Regions from separate parts of the Homo sapiens genome. Here region 1 is linked to region 2. The links are contacts of gene promoters, found by promoter capture Hi-C in blood cells and fetal thymus (Javierre and others, 2016). All regions are on one chromosome and are shown on one strand. The core of a region is centred on a gene start or on the middle of the fragment in contact, and the rest is flanking DNA. Distances in the headings are between cores, read along the strand shown. Region 1 holds the start of KCTD21 (potassium channel tetramerization domain containing 21). Region 2 holds the start of CLNS1A (chloride nucleotide-sensitive channel 1A).

What was found. Contacts are between HindIII fragments. The CHiCAGO score rates a contact against its expected background, and 5 or more counts as called.
Region 1: a contact is called between the fragment with the promoter of KCTD21 here and the fragment with the promoter of CLNS1A in region 2, in 1 of 17 cell types (erythroblasts). The highest score is 5.8, in erythroblasts.

The regions. Positions count from the first base shown.
Region 1 is chr11:78,186,562-78,190,245 of GRCh38, forward strand. It overlaps KCTD21 (potassium channel tetramerization domain containing 21), which reads right to left and starts at 2,065. Exons shown (of 2, transcript NM_001029859.3): 1 at 2,012-2,065. USP35 (ubiquitin specific peptidase 35) reads left to right here and starts at 2,358. Exons shown (of 11, transcript NM_020798.4): 1 at 2,358-2,596. RefSeq lists silencers at 1,782-2,121, 2,552-2,711. The HindIII fragment of the contact is 4,363 bases long and covers 1-3,094 here.
Region 2 is chr11:77,635,680-77,639,077 of GRCh38, forward strand. It overlaps CLNS1A (chloride nucleotide-sensitive channel 1A), which reads right to left and starts at 2,115. Exons shown (of 7, transcript NM_001293.3): 1 at 1,911-2,115. The coding sequence starts at 2,035. RefSeq lists enhancers at 1,843-2,362, 2,017-2,256. The HindIII fragment of the contact is 10,516 bases long and covers 1-3,398 here.

The DNA.
Region 1 (3,684 bases), core at 815-3,314, 550 kb after region 2:
CACTACAACGGCAATAATAATGGCTAACGTTTATTGAGCAGTTACTACCGTGCTAGGCACTCTATACATGTTAATCTCTTTCAATCTCACAGATTAAGTAGATACTATTATATACCTACTTTACAGACCAACCATACTGGGCCCTCTTCGACTTCTGCAATTTGGCATCTGCCATCCCCTCTGCCTGGACCTTGAAGACAAATCCCATGCATCGGCCAGGTCTCTCAGCTGGAATTCATTCCTTCTCCTCTGCATCTGCGGAGAATTTTAGTCTAACCCCTTACCACAGCCAACTTTACTTAAGTAGATGGATGCCTGGCTCCCTTGCTGGGGCTGGGGGTGCCCCTTTCTATATCCACAGAAGCACGTAGAATAGGGGAAGAGGAAGAAATTTCTCTCCTGTTTAGTCAGATCCATTTTCCCCACCTGGATTTTCAAAACTTTTTAATTTTGAAATGCTCTGTTCAATTTTCAATCTGGAATCTAAAGGGATGTGACAAGGCCGAGGTGATTACTTGGGAGTAAATGCAAGGAGAGTTTCCACTGCGTAAGGGAATGGACAGCACGTGGCTGGGTAAATTTCAAAAAAGACAATGCTCAGAGTGAGTACTGTGTTTTCCAGTAAGTGGGAGACTTCCCCACCTTACCCCACCGGAGAAAGGACTCTTTGCCTTGAAGCCCCTAGGACGACTACCCTTTCTTCACCTCCTCTTCCTGACCACCCCACATCAAAGAGCTGCGTCTATAATTCTGTCTTGCCCAGTCCATATCTCTAAGAAATCCGAAGGCTGCTCTATTACCATCACAACCCATAGGGAGGAGAGAAAAGGTGCTTCCTAGACACAGGGACCCCAGAATGAGCTGCGCAAAAGGCAGGAGGAGAGAAAGGTGGGCTGGAAGAAGGAGACCACGGAATCTGGCACGGCAAGGTATTCTTTCATCTGGCGTAGACCTCCAACAACCACTACCATCCCCCAGCCCCTTCCAGAACTTTCCTTCACCTTCTCGGCTCACTCTCACGCTTCACCTTGTGCTTTTCCTCCGGCACCAGCACCCCATTTCAAACCGCTCTCTTCCTATGTCTCCTCCAAACAGTAATTTATAAACACCGTGCTTTCAAATCCATCTCATTTCATCCTCACAGTACTATAGGAGGGCTGCCTTACAGGCTGTCATTCGGAAGGGTTGGGGGGACTGGTCCTGCCAGACAATTTGCGAAGGTCGGGGCATCAAAACTTTTCTTTCCTGCCTCCCACGCCAAGCTAAACCTCTGCCTCCCCGAGTGCAGGGAGAAAAGCAAGGTCTTTGAAGTAAGGAGTCCTGAGTGGTTTTAGGCAAGTCCCTTCGCTTTTCTGAGCCTCACATTCCTCACCTGTCAACCGCTATAGTGACGCCTCTACTTTTCAGGGCGTGGGAGGTCAATGAGATCACTGGTGTGCCGCACTGAACTCGGGGATGGACTCTTTATTTCCAGTCAGTAAAGGGAGGTGTTCTATGCATCACAGGCTTTTGCCCACGCCGCCACAGCGCGGCCGGCCCAGGGCTCTCCAGAGCGGGGCAAGTTCCCTGTCATCTGTGTCTCCGCCCTTCCTTCCCCAATCTCACCCAGGCTGGCCTCATCGGCTTGTTCCGCACCCACTCCCCAGCCCTACAGCCCCCACTCCGACCTGACAAGTGCCCCACCCCCACCTAGAGATCCCGCCTCTCCTTGCCCCACCCACCAAGGACTCCTCCCACAGTCCCGACCCTCATTATCCGGGCTTTTCCGACTATCACCATCCGCCCTTGCTCTCCCAACAGCCCCGCCCCTCTAAGAGCTCTGCCCACTTCGGCTCACCTCGCTCCGAAACGCGCCCCCTCCCCCGCACCACAGGCGATGCCATCCCCATTTCACAGATGGGAATGGCGAGGCTGGGATAGATTAGTCTCATGGTAAGACAGGTGCTCAGTGGGCCCACGTACCCTCGCCGGTAGTCCCCGAGCCCCGCGACCCCGGCCGTGCCGCACCCACCTCCTGCCCTCGCTCTGCAGCCTCTCCCTCCGCGAGCGGCCAGCGCAGCTTTGCGAGGGGGGCGGAGGGTAGGAGCCCAGCCCAGGGGCGTGGCGGTCCGGGGTCTGTGCGCTGCCTTCCGGGACTGGTAGTTCTCTCTGGGCTCCTCGCAGCTCGGCGCGTCGAGAGCGAACTCCATCTCCCAGGAGGCATTGCAGCGAGTTGCTCTGCGCCCCGCCTCGTCCCCGCCGGTGTCCGGCCGGCTGGCCTTAAAGGGGACGCGGTCAGAGTGGCAGCTCGCGGGGTGGCCCCCGCTCCGGCTCCGCCCCATTTCACGCACCTCGCCCCTCCCCATGCTTCATCCCGCAGCCCCGGGGCCGCGCCGCAGAGTCGGGCTTCCTGGATACATAGAGGCTTGTGCCAGGCGGGGTGGGAAGACTGGATTTTGCAGTGGAAGCAGCATCTCTTCCGTCTGGGACCTGGCTGAGGGCGTCCCCACCCTGGGGGGAGCAGAGGACCAGCCCTGACCTAGCCGGGCCCAGCCTCGTCCTGCCCGGCCTGAGCGCCCCGCCCAGCAGCCGGCTCTGGCCCACCGGGGTCCGGGAGGTAAGGGGGTTGGGGGCGTGTGACTGTCTTTGGGGGGCGGTGTCTGCACCCTGGCCTTTCGAGAACCCTGGACTTGCGAGCCCAGGGCTGGGAGTCGGGAGATCTGGGTGCATCCTGGGCCTCCTGGGCCTCACTGTGTGACCTTGGGCGAGTAGCTATTCCTCTCTGGGCATTAATCCCCTCCCTTCATCAATTGTATGTCGAAGTGATCCTGCTCCCTCCCCTTTCAGGTAAGAGGGCATTCGCACCCAGTACCTAGTACATTCGCTTGCTGGCTTTTCGTGGGGCCCTCCAGCTCAAGCGTGGGCTGGGCGCGGGTGCACTGGAGGGAGGGAGGTGGCACAAACTGGGGGGCCCGAGGCCACCATTGCTTGGAATGGGCTTTTCCTATTCTCAGTGTGCTGGGCCCTGGGATACCCTCCCCAACCCCCTCTTACGGCCCTGGCCCTTGCAAACCGGAGACCCTGATGTGTCAGCTTGGTGCCCTTCCTTCCAGAAAGCTTGGGGTGGAGTGCGGCCCTCACAGGTTTGTGAGGGGTGGCCCCGCAGGGATAGGTGTGTGTGGTGGGTTCCTGAGGAGGAATAGCTGCTCCTGCTTTCTTCCCTTCTCTCTCCTCCTTATCCTTTGAGGAAGAGCAGCTGCTTTTTACCAGTGAAACCCTTTTTTCTTTTTCTTTCCAGGAGACAGTTTGGTGGCCCAGACATGGGCCTCCCGGAGTAGGGTGAAGCACTTCTTCCCAGGGTTGCCTTGGGTAGAAGTTCAGTTAAAAAATACCTAGAGAGATGCTGCCATTCAGACACCTGAGGGGCCAGAGATGGAGGGCACCACCTGGTGTCGGGAGGGGCAGCCTGGTACCCCCAAGGAAGCTCTGGCTCCCAGGGGAGTCAAAGGAGGGAGGCTGGCTTCGAGGGTCAGAGAGGGGAGGAAATGTGCTCCTCAGCTCTTAGGTGCTGAGCAGAGGCTGGGAGGGGCTGCTCTGACCTGGAGCAGGGAGAGGTTGAGTAACACCATGAAGCCTTCTTCTCAGGTCCTAGGAGATTCTGTGAGCTTTTGACCTGAAGGCTAACCAGGAACAGATTTTTGTTTT
Region 2 (3,398 bases), core at 865-3,364:
ATCAATACAGGACTGTCCCTCAAAAGGAGTTATAATACTGAAAGAAGCGTCAACATACAGAAATGTCATGAATAAAAAAGGAATGCCTGGGAACTAGGAATGTATCTGTGCTCCATCTTCCACCACTTCAAAGAAACTGCTTTCCCCAATTATCAAAGATCTCCTTGTCAATACTCAATATATGCTCTTCACATTTTGTTTTGACTGCTCCTTCCTCCTTTCTCAAGTTTCTTCTTTCATGACCCACCCGTCGGCGTATCCCTAGGGTTCTACACTTGGTCCTCTTCTCTTCTGAGATATCTAATCCATTTCCATGAGTATACACTAACACTTTAACGACCTCCAAACATCTCTCTTTAATACCACTTTCCCAAGATACACATTCTTTTTTTATTTTTATTTTTTTTTTGAGACAGGGTCTCACTCTGTCATGCAGGCTGGAGTGCAGGGGCACAATCACGGCTCACCGCAGCCTCGACCTCCTGGGCTCAGGTGATCCTCCCACCTCAGTTTCCTGAGTAGCTAGGACTACAGGCCGCCACCATGCCTGGCTAATTTTTGTATTTTTTGTAGAGACTGGGTTTCGCCATGCTGCCCAGGCTGATCTCAAACTCCTGGGCTCAAGCGATCTGCCTGCCTCAGCCTCCCAAAGTGCTGGGATTACAGGTGTGAGCCACCGCGCCCGGCCCAACACGGTCATATGTACAACTACTCCACACATGTCCTGACCAAACTCATTATCTGCCTCTCACCTCAATCTTGCTTTTCCTCCCATCCATATGTCCTATCTCAGTTTCTGGCCTGAAGCCTAAACCTTGTTCAATGTCTAAATTTCCCTTTAAAGCAGAGGTTCTTTACAGTTTTTGTGCTCTGGATTCTGTAGTAGGCAGAATTTTGGCCCCACGACCTTCACTTTCTGGTGTCATGCGGGTGAATATGTTATATTACACAGCAAAAGGGACTTCACAAACGTAATTAAGGTTACCAGTCGACAGTAACATAGGGAGATTATCCTGGATTTTACAGGTGGTTCCAAAGTAATCACATGAGCTCTTAAAAGTAGAGAATTTTCTCTGGCTGTAGACAAGTGATGGAGCAAAAGGGGAAGCAACACATATCTGAAGGGCAGGAAAGATTCGATGTGTCATTACAGGCTTCAAAATAAAGAAAACTGCATGTCAAGGAAACAGGGACCTCTGTTCTACAACCACAATATTTACGGTAGATCTATCTGACTGTCAAAATACCAAAGTGCTCCACGTGGCCAAATAAAAGGGCAATTCCTTCCAGGACCCCAAAACGGGAGTCTGGTCCCTCTGCATATGACCCCTGTCTGTGTCGAGTTAAGGGTGTTCCTCTCCTTACTATACCTACAGAAGAAAATCTTTATTGTGTAACCAAACTTTAAAAGTCCTCCACAGTCGGCTCTGAAACTACGTATCCCAGAGAGGGGAACATCTCCTGCATCTGTTCATCCGGAAAGACAGGCACACTTCAGACCCTTAAAACCAGACCGTGCGTTAAGGGCAACGCACGCGCCAGACCTCCAGTAAATAGGCGAGTTAAAAAAAAAAAAAAAAGAAAATAAAAGAAAGAAAGAAAGAAAAGAAGAAGAAAGAAAGAGAGAAAGAGACAGAGAAAGAGAAAGAGGAAAAAAAGAAAAAAAAAAAAAAAAAGCACAATCCATAAGGGGAAATTCCGGCCGGAGAAAACAGAGAATGGAAGACTCCGGAGGAGTACTAGAAAAATCGAGCCTTCCACCCGCTACAGGTATCCCTGAGGCGTCGGGCACGAGACCCCGCTCCCAGCAGGCCTCCAGGCCGCCCCTTGCCCGGCTCCTTCGCACCGCCTGCTCCAGCAAGGAGGAGGGCGGCGCGCAGGAGGCCAGCGCTGGGGACCAGGAACCCTACCTCTCAGCGATGTAAAGGGTACCAGTGCCGAGGCCCTTCCCGTTCAGCACAGCCTCAGTGTCTGGCTGCTGCCGCAGGAGCCCCTCCGCTGGCCCAGGCGGCGGGAAACTTTTGAGGAAGCTCATAGCAGCAGAGTGCGGCAACACAGGCCCTGAGGGAGTTGGAGCACAGCAATGCGTGCACCACACCGCCCGCCCTGGAAGAGGCAGTCACCCCGGAAGAACAACTTAGTCTGCCCCGGAATCTGAACGCCGTCGACCATAGAGATGAGACATTCTAGGAAAAGCGGCGGAGGTCGGCTAAGAACGTGTGGAGTTTGACCGCGCAACACCCTTCCCCTTCTTCCTCGCCATTTCTGAGGCTTTGGGCTTCAATAACTGAGGGTTCTGTGGGAAGTCCCTCAGGATTGTCACAGTGAAACCACCACTGCAAAATTATAACTGAGACACTGAAAGCGATCTGACCTACCCAAATCCATGTTGTTTCTAACCTCCAAACTGTCCTTGTTCATTGCTGGATATAGGCTGAACTAACTTTGGGAGGAACTTAGTTTACAGTTTGAAGTTTAAAACAAAGATGATGACAGCCTTTTCCCAAAACAAACTTCCTTCTTGCCTGGGGACTGGACTGCCTTTGTAGGACTAACAAATCAGCCACAAGATTAGAAATTATGGTTTAGATTAGAAATTACAGCTGCAAGCTACAAGATTCTGACCCTCCCTAAACTGCACCTAAGATCGGTGCTTGAGATATGTTGCAGACCCTGCACTTGATGGATCAGCTGGCACCACCAGATGGATAAACTGGCTATGTGATCTTGTGCCCCCTCCCCACCAACCCAGGAACTGACTCAGCGCAAGAGGACAGCTTCAACTCCCTGTGACTTCATCTCCCACCCAACCAATCAGCACTCTTGACTCACTGGCCTTCCCCAACCTGCCAAATTATCCTTAAAAACTTGGATCCCTGGCTGGGCGCGGTGGCTCACGCCTGTAATCCCAGCACTTTGGGAGGCCGAGGCGGGCGGATCACGAGGTCAGGAGATCAAGACCATTCTGGCTAACATGGTGAAACCCCGTCTCTACTAAAAATACAAAAAAATTAGCCGGGTGTGGTGGCAGGCGCCTGTGGTCCCAGCTACTGGGGAGGCTGAGGCAGGAGAATGGCGTGAACCCGGGAGGCAGAGCTTGCAGTGAGCCGAGATAGCGCCACTGCACTCCAGCCTGGGCGACAGAGCGAGACCCCGTCTCAAAAAAAAAAAAAAAACAACAAAAAACAAAAAACAAAAAAACTTTGATCCCTGAATGCTCTGGGAAACTGATTTGAGTAAAAATAAAACTCTAGGCCGGGTGCAGTGGCTCATGCTTGTAATCCCAGCACTTTGGGAGGCCGAGGCGGGCAGATCACGAGGACAGGAGATCGAGACCAGCCTGGCTAACACGGTGAAACCCCGTCTCGACTAAAAATACAAAAACAAAATTAGCCGGG